Linked DNA regions of Homo sapiens: region 1 is linked to region 2. The links are contacts of gene promoters, found by promoter capture Hi-C in human tissues and cell types (Jung and others, 2019). All regions are on one chromosome and are shown on one strand. Each heading gives the region's core, a stretch centred on a gene start or on the middle of the fragment in contact. The rest is flanking DNA. Distances are from core to core; before and after follow the strand shown. Region 1 overlaps AGTPBP1 (ATP/GTP binding carboxypeptidase 1). Region 2 holds the start of C9orf153 (chromosome 9 open reading frame 153).

Region 1 (6,688 bases), core at 3,447-5,946, 530 kb after region 2:
TTAAATTTTAGTATTATACAAATAGTTTTGAACTTGTGGGTCCCCTAAAAGAGTGTCAGGACCACAGGGGCCCACGCACCGTGCTTTTAGAACTTCTGGATTTAAATCTTAAAGAGGCTTTCTCACAAACGTTTGATTAAGAAGTGAAGTGGTAGTGACAGTCTCTTGTTTGCTTTTGTTTTACGCTTTGGGTAAAGGTAAAGGTCTTATTAAAAAAAAGTATTATAGCTAGATAGTAGGAATAAGCTCTACAGTGTTCTCTAGCACTATAGGATGACTGTAATTGATAATATATACTTTCGAATAGCCAGGAGGATATCAAATGCACAGAAATGATAAATGTTTGAGATGATGGATTTGCTAATTACCCTGATCTGATTGCTATACATTACATGTATCAAAAGATCACTGTGCCTCATAAATACATATGATTATTATGTGCCAGTTAAAAAATTTAAAGAAAAATATTTTAACATACAAAATTAAGTACAATAAAGGTTATTCACAGAAAGTTTCTTAATGGTTTTAGTCAGGTGCTGATACAATGGGATTATAGTATTAGTAATCTGAATACCATCTAAAAACAAAAATCAGACCCGGTAGTACATTTCTATATAAATGTTCAAATTTAACATTTTGGGAATGTAAATATTAAACAGTGAAGGCACAACGTGAAAAGCTCCACTAATATCTAACTCATAAGTTTAAAAAAAAGTGACCTGGTTTCCCTTCTTAATCTCTGCTCATTTCTCACTTAATTCATGCTGAGAATGAACTGCCCTATGGAGAAATTCCAGGCACTTGCTGTCTTTGCCTCACATTTTTCCTTAAGGGGAAAATGATTTAAAATTATGAAGATTATAAGGATATTGGTTATATAGGGATTAAAAACAATAATAAAGTCAGCCAGAGGGATTTATGGTCGGATAATGTTAATAAAAATCTGAACACTGCCTACATGTAATAGAGTTTAATGAATTAAAAAATATTATTTTAACAAGAACTCTTTAGGTTTATTAATTTATGGTCAACACACTTTCTAGACTCCTTTTTGGTGCATGGTGAAAACTAATCTCTCACCTTTTAATTTAATCTTATTGATTTTAACTTTTATTTATATTTGAAACAACTTTTTTCCCAATTTTTAACACAAGGTTCATATTTTGATCTTTAAAAAAATATTTATTTTAAAAATTGGTGGTAAAACATATATAACATAAAATTTACCATTTAAATCACTTTTAAGTGTGTAGTTTAGTGGCATCAAGTATATTCACATTGTTGTGCGGCAGCCACCACCATACATCTATGGAACTTCTTTTATCTTCTCAAATTGAAACTCTGTATATATTAAACAATTACTCTCCCCCTCCCCCATAATCCATTCCCTGGCAGGCACTGTTCTATTTTCTGTTGCTATGAATTTGACAACTCTGAGTAGGTCACATGAGTGGAATCAATCATACAGCGTTTATCTTTTTGTGACTGGCTTATTTCATTTAGCACAATGTCTTCAAGGTTCGTTCATGTTGTACCGTGTGTCAGGACTTTCTTTTTAAGGCTGGATAATCTGTTATATGTATATACCAGATTTTGTTTATGCATTCATCCGTTGATGAATGGACACTTGGGTTGCTTGTGAATAATGCTGCTTTGAATCTAGGTATGTAAACATCTCTTCAAGACCTTGCTTTTTATTTATTTATTTTTAAAATTTTTTTAGATGGAGTCTCGCTGTGTTGCCCAGGCTGGAGGGCAGTGGCGCGATCTCAGCTCACTGCAACCTTTGCCTCTGGGTTCAAGTGATTCTCCTGCCTCAGCCTCCTAAGTAGCTGGGACTACAAGTGTGTGTCACCATGCCTGGCTAATTTTTTTTTGTATTTTTAGTAGAGACGGGGTTCTACCGTATTAACCAGGATGGTCCCTGTCTCCTGACTTCATGATCCACTTGCCTCGGCCTCCCATGGAAGACCTTGCTTTCAGTTCTTTTGAGTATATACCCGGAAGTGGAATTGCCAGATTGTATGGTAATTCTATTTTTAATTTTTCAAGGAACCTTCATACTGTTTTTCATAGTGGCTGCACCATTTTATATTCCTATCAATAGTGCACAAAGATTCTAATCTATGCACATCAACACTTACTATTTTGTGTTTTTGTTTTGTTTTTGGTAGCAGCCATCCTAATAGCTACGAAGTGATATCTTGTAGTTTTGATTTGCCTTCATGTTGCTGTATTTGGTTTCCTAGTATTTTGTTGAAGAGTTTTGCATTAATGGTCATAAAGAATACTGGTCTGTCATTTTCTTGTAACATCTGTCTGACTTTGGTATCAGGGCTGTACTGGCCTTATAGAATGAGGTAGGAAGCGTTCCTTCTTCACTTTTCTGGAAGAGTTGAAAAGAACTGGACTTTTTTTTTTTTAAGTATTTTGTAGAATTTACCAGTGAAGCCATCAGATTCAGGGCTTTGCTTTGTAAGGAGGTTTTTTTGTTTGTTTGTTTCAGACGGAGTCTCTCTTTGTCGCCAGGCTGGAGTGCAGTGGTGCCATCTTGGCTCACTGCAACCTCTGCCTCCTGGGTTCAAGCGATCCTTCTGCCTCAGCGTCCTGAGTAGCTGGGACTACAGACACGCGCCACCACGCCCAGCTAATTTTTTGTATTTTTAGTAGAGACAGGGTTTCACCATGTTGGCCAGGCTGGTCTCGATCTCTTGACCTTGTGATCCGCCCACCTTGGCCTCCCAAAGTGCTGGGATTACAGGCGTGAGCCACCGTGCCCAGCCTGTAAGGAGGTTTTTAATTACTGATTACATCTCCTCAATAGTTATGGGTCTATTTAGATTTTCTATTCCTTTGTGGTTCAGGCTTGGTAGGTTTTGTGTTTCTAGGAATTTATCTCATCTAGGTTATCCAATTTGTTGGTGTACTGTTGTTCACAGTACTCTGTTATAATCCTTTTTGGTTTTGTGGAATTGGTCATGAATGTCTCCCCTTTCATTTCTGATTTTAGTAATTTGAGTCCTCTCTCTTTTAAATCTTGCTAAAGGTTTGTCAGTTTTGTTAATCTTTTCAAAGCACCAACTTTTGGTTTTGTTGATTTCTTTATTGTTTTTCTAGTCTCTATTTTAATTATTTCTCCTCTGGTCTTTTTTATTTTCTTCCTTCTGCTCACTTTGGGTTTAGTTCTTCTTTTTGTAGTTCCTTAGTTGTAAAGATAGGTTGTTTTGAGATCTGTCTTCCTTTTTAATGTGTTTATGTCTATAGATTTTCTCCTCAGCACTGCTTTTGCTATATCCTGTAAGTTTTGGTATGTCATGTCTTTGCTTTCATTTGTGTCTATTTTCTGGTTAACCCAGTGATTTCTTCTTTGATTCATTGGTTAAGAGTACGTTGTTTAATTTCCATAAATTTGTGTATTTTCCAGTTTTCTTTCTCAGATTGATTTCTAACTTAATCCTGTTGTGAGGTTGGAGAGCACACTTTGTATGATAAATATCTTTTAAAAGCAATTGAGACTTAATTTGTATCCTAATATGTGGCCTGTTTTGGAGAATGTTCTGTGTGCACTTGAGAGGAATTTATATTCTGTTGTTGAGTACCTTGTTCTAAATATATGTTAGATCTAGTTGATTCATTGTGTTGTTCAAATCATCTCTCTCTTCACTTCTTTCTGGTTGTTCTTTTCCTCATTGAGAATGGTGTATTAAGTATCCACCTTTTATTATAGAAGTATTTCTCCCCATAATTATGTTAATTTTTACCTCGTATTTTGATGATCTGTAACTACTTCATATATTTTGTTGGTGTGTAAATGTTTATAATTGTTTTATCTTCTTGCTCTGTTGAACTTTTTATTAATATATAATATACTTTTTCTCTTGTAAACTTATTTGATTCAGAGTCTGTTTTGTCTGATACTAGTATAGCCCTTCCTGCTCTCTTTTGGTTACTATTTGCATGGAATATCTTCTTCCATTCTTTCACGTTCCATGTATTTGTGCAATGGGATCTAAAGTAAGTCTCCTGCAGACAACATACAGTTGGATCATTTAAAAAAATCTATTCTGCCAGTCTTTGTGTTTTGATTGGCAAATTTAATCCCTTTACATTTAAAGTAATTACTTCCTAAAGTAAATTACTTATTTCTGTTCTTTGTTTTTTATATGCCATATTAGCTGTTTTTATTCCTCATATTTTATATATTTTGATTTATATTGGGATATTAGCTGGAGCTGACTTTGGGTTATAGTGGTTTTCTTCATAAAGTGGTTTCTTCAAAAAAACCCAAACCACTATTTGAGTTATAGTGGTTTCTTCATAGTCCCGTCCTGGCTAACATGGTAAAACCCCGTCTCTACTAAAAATACAAAAAATTAGCCGAGCCTGGTGGTGGGCGCCTGTAGTCCCAGCTACTTGGGAAACTGAGGCAGGAGAATGGCCGGAACCCAGGAGGTGGAGCTAGCAGTGAGCTGAAATCACGCCGCTGCACTCCAGCCTGGGCGACAGAGCAAGACTCTGTCTCAAAAAAAAAAAAAAAAAAAAAAGGGTCATAGTCATAGGTTAGAGGCAGAGAAAAATGTGTGTTTCAAGGTAAGATTTTAAATCTCATTTATCATCTGTATAGACTTAGAAATTTTGGCTTTGTTTAAGTCTGAAAATAGTTGAAATCTGAGTTGGAGGAAGAGTTATTTTAAACAAATCATTTAATAGTTGAAGGGTAATGAGATTCTGCTCTTCAAACCTACCTCATTTATTGATAGTAAAATGGAAATGTCACAAAGCAAAACTAATTAGACTTTTTATAAGTATCTGAACATTTTTTGTGGAGTAGTGTGTGAACCTTACAGATTTGTTTGGTTTTGATAAGAATGCATGATCAGGAAAGATACATAAGCTTTTTGTAGATTTACTCTTACCCATACTTTTTGATAAAATTAATGACAATAAAATAGGTGAAATCAATTTTCCTGTTTGAAGATTGGACTAAAATATAACATAATCATTGGGCTGGGCTTGGTGGCTCATGCCTGTAATCTCAGTACTTTGGGAGGCCAAGGTGGAAGAATTGCTTGAGCCCATGAATTTGAGACCAGCCTGGGCAATATGACAAGACCCGGTCTCTACAAAGAATGGAAAAAACAATTAGGTGGCTGGTGGTGTGCACCTGTGGTCCCAGCTGAGGCAGAAGGATTACTTGAGCCCAGGAGTTTGAGGCTGCCGTGAGCCTTGTTTGTGCCACTGTACTGTAGCCTGGGTGACAGAGCAAGACCGTGTCTCAAAAACAAACAAACAAACACACACAAAAAAACCAAAACACTTCCCTCCCCGAAAAAAAAAACCCTGCCAAACTACTTCCAAAGTAATTGCACCATTGTACATTCCTGTCAGCAATGTGTGAGGGTTCCAGTTTCCCACATCCTTGCTAACACTTGTTATTATCTGTCTTTTTAAAGTTTAGCCATTCTATTGGTTGTGAAGTGGTATCTCATAGTAGGCTAAGTTTCAAAATAGCAGTTAGGCATAACAGGAGTGATAGTACTTTAAGATGAAGTTAATGTTCCAATTAAAATATTGAATAGGCTGACCTAGGAATGGTTCTTGACCCTGGCTATGCATGATTAGTATCACTTCCTAATTTAAAAAAGTTGATGTCACAACTTCATTTCATTTCTGAGGATATTGTACGATTCCTCTCCTACTCCATGGCCCAAATCCTTCATTTAAAAATAAAACAGTAAAGACACACTTGTAGAGAAAGAACTACTTTCCCTTAAGCAAAGAGAAGGTTTACCATAGGCTGCTAAATAGTTTAAAGAATTGTTGGAATGTATCAGTATGGGTTCAATCAGGAGATAGAAACCACATAGTAATTTAACAGGGAAAGAATAATATAAGGAATTATTGACTGTAACAGGGGATTGGAGTAATAAGAGATTTACCAGTGAGAAGTAAAGATAATGCTAAAGAATATAGGAATAGCAGATATAAGGAGCAGTGACTATCCCAGGACTAAGATAGAGTGCGTTTCCATCTTCCAGATGAACTTAGATCTTATTGGAAAGGGCACGTTCAAGGCTATGTCAAAGGGCAAGTTCAAGCTATGGTACAGCACTAGTGGCATTTGCTGGAAATTTACCCCTTAGGGTACCAGGGAATGCTGTTTATGAAGAGGTATCTCATCAGAGACCTCTACTACAAAACTACCTAGGCTCTTATTGGAAAAGCAGCACACACTGAGGAGCCTGGTGGTAGAAGAACCATCCTTGTTGAAGGAGTGGGTCCCTGGAAAAGCCTTGCCTACTGGAGCCAAGTGAATGCCCTGGAACTAGGAAGCCCAATTCTTTTCCCTTGCAATGCTTTTCCAGAGCCGTCTACTGACACAGCTTAATGTCATGTCAGCTGGCAGATAAAAAAGATATTTAAAGGACACAAATTCATTTTCACAGAGCAGACAAAAAGGGCGAATTGGGAGATGAGGGGCAATAAATCAATATCTGGCACAGGCATTAAGTGGCTTACTTAGGAGGAATTAAGTTGAGAGATCTGAAGAAAGAGACATAGGTTGAGCTTTAAGGAACAACTCTCACATCTTACCACAGAACTGGGAAACCAAGAGAGTTACCTCTTTTATGATTAGGAAACCTCTGGTCTAATTGTGAAATTGCTTCTAGAGCTTCATTTCTGGAAC
Region 2 (6,841 bases), core at 4,342-6,841:
CTCCCCTTGTAGGTGACACATGCTCTGCCCTCTGAGGCAGTCAGCGAAGGCAAATGGTCTGACTTCTTTATGTGGTCAACATTTTGATAGAATTTCTTTATAATTTGATAGAGATTATATTATTTTTATTTTATTTTGAGTGGGAAGAATTTTAAAACCTTTTTATGTCAATTACCATCTTGTTTCTTTCACCTTTGAAACAATGGTTTGTAGCAGAGATGACATTGTAGCAACCCAGAATTATGCTTTTGGAATGTGGTCCTCACTGTACAGGAGAATGTGTAATCTTTTGTTAAAATTCCCAGTGTGCATACATTTTCTGGTTCCTCGGTCCAGTTGCTAAAGTTCTTAGTATTTTAGCCTAACATATTTATCACCAACTTTTCTTTAAAAGTGTTCCTTTTGTCACTTAGTTACTGATTTTCCTGGGTTTGACATAAGTATTCTATGAGATGATATATATGCTTTTTTTGAAAGCTGATTCTCATGAATTCAAGTAGCTGAGTTCCTTTATGTTTCGTTTATTCACTAAAGTAGCTGACACAAAACACACCAAAACCTAGAGCGGTAGTTTTATGTAAATGCTCATGAGTTTGTATCAATAATATAATTGTTGATCCACTTATAATTCGTGCAACACTGTATGTATGTAGAGATTGAGTTGTCAATTAAAAAAAATGTGGCCTCTTTGTGATCATAAAATTGCCTTTTATTATTGAGGGGAGAGGGTTTGGGACAGCAGCTGCTAAAGCCAATAAAAAAATGACTGTCTTTTTTGCCTAGGCTGCCTGTCACCAGGCGTCCTCCCTACCTGACACTGTTTCGTCCAGAGTCCTAGCTGCTGATTCTCCACACAGCCCTGGAGAGACCATCTCAGGTGTCTCTCATCTCCCTGGCTTTGCTAGCCTCTTTTTCCTCCTTGTTCCCCATGAGGGTCATCCATCCCCCAAGCAGGTTCCTCATGTCCTTAGGACGAGAGCATTATCACTACCTGGAGTGCTTTTCCCTCTGTCATCTGAGCTTTTATGTGAACCTCCTCCAAGAAGGTTCTCAGCTGTTCACTCAGGCACAGTAGTGAGCACTGACTCTCCACTAGCCCTGAGCTTTCACAGGTCATCAAAGACAGTCCCAACCTCAGAGAGCTTCAAGTCGGCAAATGAGACACCAGCGAAGAGCATCGATCACCATGGTAAGTGTTGTGAGCAGCTGGTGGTGATGGCATGCTCACTGCATGCCAGGAAGTGTTCTAATAAACATCATCTCAGCAATCGAGAATGCAGGTCTGACTACTGTCTTTTTCATAGATAAACCAAAACACAGCTTAAATAAAATAGCTAAGGTGGCCAAGTCAGAATCGTACCCTGTGTCTATGGCTCCAGATGCTGTGCTCCCAGCTGTTAGGCCATACTGCGTGTCCTGATAGAACCAACGGAGTGCGCTTCTAAAAAGGTAGCCTACAGGTTATGACCCCTGCGCCTAGTTGAAAGAGATTTGGGGAAGAGGGAAGACAGTGAACAGTACTAAAGAGGGTTGAAAAAACACAGAGGGCGTGTTCTCACTCATAGGTGGGAATTGAACAATGAGAACACTTGGACACAGGGCAGGGAACATCACACACCAGGGCCTGTCGTGGGGGAGGGATAGCATTAGGAGATATACCTAATGTAAATGACGAGTTAATGGGTGCAGCACACCAACACGGCACATGTATACATAAGTAACAAACCTGCACGTTGTGCACATGTACCCTAGAACTTAAAGTATAATAAAAAGTAATAATAAAAACACAGTGAAGCTAAGCACTCCGGAGAATGAGGCCCGGAGAGGAGCAGTAAGGCTGGAGGGCAAGGTAGATGCCTGGGGCGTTTGGGCTTTCTGCAAGTTCTGTAGGCCTTGGGGCCACTGAAAGTGTTTAGGGGCACTCATTAGAAAATTGCATTTGGAAGTGTTTCCATGGCCTGGACTAGGCTGGCTGATGAGGACAGGAAGAAGCTACTGCAAAGCCCGCTATAATAGGACCTGAGCAGGGACCCGTGAGAGAAAGGCTTAGGAGGCAGAAAGGATGGTACTCTATCCGTAGCCCAACCTCATCAGCCAGTGTTCTGTGACTCATTTCTATTTGTACAGGCAGTACTTGTACTGTTCATTGGTTTTGGTTCTTGTCTCTTGTACAATATTGAAAGGATCTTGGAGACAGGAACGCAATTGCTTCTTCAGTGTTCGTTTAGCATCGGGCAGGTCAGAATTATTTTTGCAAAATGGCTCCATCCTACGGCCATGTCACACCATGTCATGCAAGCCTTAGCCCTCACCAGGAAGGTTCTGTCTGTTGCACCACATTCATCCACATTCTACTCACAAACACTGGTCATTGTGTTAGGCGATTTGGTAGTGCCCCTGGGTGATGTGTAGGCCAGCAGATCTGTCGCTTAGCAGCAGACTTCAGGCTTTTCATGATCAGTTATAAGCCCACTCTTCCACATCAGGATGCTAAATTGAATGAATCAGGCCATGAGGACAGAGGCCTGCTGTGCTTCATTGTTGCAGGGCGCCTCCCAGCCCTCTGTCACCGGACCCACCAGAATGATTTTTTTTTTCTCAAACAGGAAAGGGTTGGGAACAATCCCTACAAGATCAGATGTCCCTAAGATTTCCAGTATTTCCTAGGTTTCACTCAGCAGGAAATACCTCAAAAAAAAAATGGCCTTTCTTGTCATGTTTTGATACCTGAGAAATCAGGAAATGGAAAAGCCTGTGCTAAGCTGAGCTGTAAGCAACATCAGTGTCTCATTTGAGCCTTAGAGCAGACGTGGCATGGGCCAGACACAGCATCGACCCAGAATAAACCCAAATACAGCTCACCTGAGCTCAGTGCAGGCTGGGAGGCTGGCCTGGAAAGGTGTAGGTTTGGGGTGAGATATGCCTGGATTTGAATCATGGTTCCTGTCATTTTGTAGCCATGTAACCTTCTGTAAAACAGTCTCAGAATTTGGGGGGATGTGATGAGCTAACTACACATAAATGGCATCCTGCTAAGGGTAGACGTTTCATACGTTGTAATTCTTGTCCCTTTTAGCCATTTTCTTGTGCAAAAAGGGATAATATGTTAATGGATTATCAATCAAAGCAAGAGCTTAGGGAAAGAGTTTCAACACATTTAGGGAGTTATTGTCCCATATTCAAATCTGGGGGAAATTTGCTGTATTTCCTTCAAATAAAAGACCACAGTAACTTCTTTGAAAAGAACCATAAATTTCAAATATAAACATTCGGAGAAATTTCATTCTCTTAGTAGCTGATTAACTATAGACAAACCTGCCTTAATTGAGGAGCTGTTTTGAAAGCTCATTCCCCAGTAGGAACTCAATCTCCTGGTCCCAGGTGGGTCTCATCAGACAAGAGATGGAGGAGAGAGGGAGGTGCACCCTAGCCTCAGCCTCTATTGAAATACAGAGCCATGTGGTGGTTACATCACTGTGGACTCCCATCCTCCCTTGCTGCTGTGCAGTGTTCAGGGAAGGCTTCATTTCACACCAACCTTTAGCGGGGCAAGGGCTCTGTACCAGCGGTACTCAGCTTAAAACTAGCCTACTTTGAGGGCCTTGATGGGTTACTGCTTTTACTTCCACTAGCTAGTGATTCCGAAACTTTTCATGATGAAGTGCCCATTTATTGGGCCAGGTGTGTTGGCTCAAGCCTGTAATCCCAGCACTTTGGGAGGCAAAAGTGGGCAGATCACCTGATCCCAGGAGTTCAAGACCAGCCTGGGCAACGTGGTAAAACGCCGTCTCTACAAAAAATACAAAAATTAGCTGGTCATGGTGGTACATGCCTGTAGTCCCCGTTGCTCAGGAGACCAAGGTGAGAGGATCACTTTAGCCCAGGAGGTAGAGGTTGCAGTGAGCCAAGATCGTACTACTGCACTCCAGCCTGGATGACAGAGCAAGACCCTGTCTCAAAAAAAAAAAGAATAAAAAATAAAGTACTCATTTTTTGTTCTCCATGGATTCTATGTCTTGAAGCAGTCCTCAAACTTTAAGGTGCAAATAAGTCACCTGGGGGTCTTGTTAAAAAGCAGATTCTTGGCCGGGCGCAGTAGGTAGCTCACGCCTGTAATCCAGCACTTTGGGAGGCTGAGGCGAGTGGATCACTTGAGGTCAGGAGTTCGAGACCAGCCTGGCCAACATGGTGAAACCCCATCTCTACTAAAAATACACAAAAATTAGCCAGACATAGTGGTGGGCGCCTCTAGTCCCAGCTACTCAGGAGGCTGAGGCAGGAGAATCACTTGAACCTGGGAGGTGGGGAGGTTGCAGTGACATGAGATGGCACCACTGCATTCCAGCCTGGGTGACAGAGCAAAACTGTCTCAAAAAAAAAAAAAAAGCAGATTCTGTAACAAAGGTCCAGGGCAGAGCCTGAGATTCTGCATTAGTAGCAAAGGCCCAAGTGAAGCCAGTGCTGTTGCTCTGCAGAACACCTTTGAATGGCAGGCTTTTGAAATATTTTCTCATTGGAAGAATCTTCTGTATTTATTAAATTCTGCTTAAAATTATTAACTTTCTTGTATATCCATGTTCATAACAGCATTATTCACAATAGCCAAAAGGTAGGAACAACCCAGGTGTCCATTGACAGGGGACAGGGGGTGAGAAATTTATTTCATGGACACAGATTCAGGTGGAAAAGATGAAAAAGCTCTGGAGATGGAAGGCAGTGCAGGTGGCACAACAATGTGAATGTACTGAATGCCACAGAACTGTGTACCTAAAACGGCTTAACACGGTAAGCTTCATGTTATGGATATGTTGCCACGGTGTTCACAAGTTATTAACTCAATCAGACTATTTAAATGCCCAGTAGATTGCATTCTGGGGAAATGGCTGTTTCAGGAAAATTTTCAGTGATTGCCACAGGGACCTCCCATGGGTGGGGAATGGAGTCTGGAGCACGGCTGCATGGCTCATGGAGAGAATTTGCACAGCCAGGTAGCCCCTGGTCCACTTCTACCCATATCTGGCCAGGTGCAAAGAGCATAGCTGTACCTTCTATTATCTCTCTCAATTTCTTATTTGCACTTTGCCCATGTCTATAGAAGGAAAAACTTGACTGATTAAAAATTACATTCACGGCACCTGTAGTCCCAGCTACTCAAGAGGCTGAGGCAGGAGAATGGCGTGAACCCGGGAGGCGGAGCTTGCAGTGAGCTGAGATCGTGCCACTGCACTCCAGCCTGGGCGACAGAGTGAGACTCCATCTCAAAAAAAAAAAAAAATTATACTCACGCCAGCCTGGGCAACATGGCGAAACCCCATCTCTAGAGAAAAATACATAAATTAGCCAGGCGTGGTGGCGTGCGCCCGGGGTCCCAGCCACAAGCTGAGGCAGAAAAAAAAGTAGCTACTCAGCTACTCAATGTTCACTCTTTAAAAATGCTTTTCCATCATCCTCCACCGTCTCCCACCCCCCACCAAGCAGCAAGATAATTCCCCATCGCTTAGCATCATATAGCTGCTTATGTGACCTTGAGAATGTCCACATGTCACAATGGACAGTCACTTAACACTAAGCAATGACACATGCTAGGAGTGGGGCTGGGCCTTGGGGCTGCTGGATGAATGAGACCCAGCCTCTGCCCTGGGAGTGCAGAGACTCAAGACAGATATGACCACGTGAAGAGACAACTGTAAAACAAGTGGTAAGTGCATCTACAGCCATAGCCACGGGGCACTGTGAGACCACAGAGCAGTGAAAACTAAGCCAGTCTAGGCTTGGCAAGGAGAGATGGAGTGAGGTGGGCAGTGGCTAAGGTGGGAAGACCAGAGCTGGGAGGTGAGATGGGATTTGGGTTTATCTTTACCAATAAGGATGAGGAGCCTGTTTCATCTTCCTCCAGGCAGGTCACAGAAGCTGGAACCAGTTGATCGGGCCGAGCCTGCAGACTCCCTCATCCTTTCCGGCCTTCAACACTGATAGCTCTGCTCTCTCTCCCCAACCTCAGTGCCTTCATCCTCCCCTGTGTTCCCATGGATGCTTGGTCCTGACTTTGCACCTCTCCCTCACACCCAGTGTCCTTTGTTTTTCCTCTGCCACTTGGGAGGCTGATGGGAGGATCACCTGAGCCTGGGAGGTTGAGGCTGCAGTGACCTGTGTTCACGCCACTGCACTCCAGCTGGGGTGACAGAATGAGAGCCTATCTCAAAGAAAAAAAAAAAACACTGCTCTGTATGATACTATCAAAGTGGATATATGTAATTGCACATTGTGAAATCTCATAGAATGCACAACACCAAGAATGGACCGTAATGTAAACTGTGAAGTATGGGCTTTAGTTAGTAACCATGCATTGATACCGGCTCATCAAGTATAACAAACGTACCACACAAACATAAGTAGTAAAAAAAAAAGGGGAAAGCTGTGTGTATGGTGCAGAGAAGGGGGGTTGTGGGAACATTGTACTTTCTAACCAATTCTAAAATTGCTCTAAAATTTAAGTATATTAATATTTTTAAAAAAAGTTTCGTTAAATTAGCAATATAATAGTTGCTTACCCAAGAAAATTCAGGTTTTCAAATATTGCGTTTTAAAAGCAATTATTTCCGGATGTGAGGGTGATCTGGCTGCAACATCTGTCACCCCACTGATGGCCAGGGTTAATTTGTCTGATCTGGCTGGCTAGGTGGATGTCTCCTTCCTCCCTCATCCGTCCACATGCGTCCTTCCAGACGCTGCGGACAACCTTCCCCAACAGAGGAGGGCCGTTCTTTGGGCAAGGGTATATGAGTAGCTGCACTCCCCTGCTAGAACCTCCAAACAAGCTCTCTAAAAGTAATTACTTCAA

What was found. The method cuts DNA at HindIII sites, captures the fragments that hold promoters and counts their contacts. A contact is called where the count stands out against the background at its distance.
Region 1: a contact is called between a fragment that was not itself captured here and the fragment with the promoter of C9orf153 in region 2, in 1 of the 25 tissues and cell types used here (lymphoblastoid cells).

Annotation. Positions count from the first base shown.
Region 1 is chr9:85,730,067-85,736,754 of GRCh38, reverse strand. All of the region lies in intron 1 of AGTPBP1 (ATP/GTP binding carboxypeptidase 1), which reads left to right. Among named protein-coding and RNA genes, the nearest start is that of AGTPBP1, 8.5 kb to the left of the region's middle. The HindIII fragment of the contact is 5,941 bases long and covers 1,726-6,688 here.
Region 2 is chr9:86,258,407-86,265,247 of GRCh38, reverse strand. C9orf153 (chromosome 9 open reading frame 153) reads left to right here and starts at 5,591. Exons shown (of 4, transcript NM_001276366.4): 1 at 5,591-5,698. ISCA1 (iron-sulfur cluster assembly 1) reads left to right here. Exons shown (of 4, transcript NM_030940.4): 4 at 1-702. It also overlaps the pseudogene RN7SKP264. The HindIII fragment of the contact is 6,872 bases long and covers 2,022-6,841 here.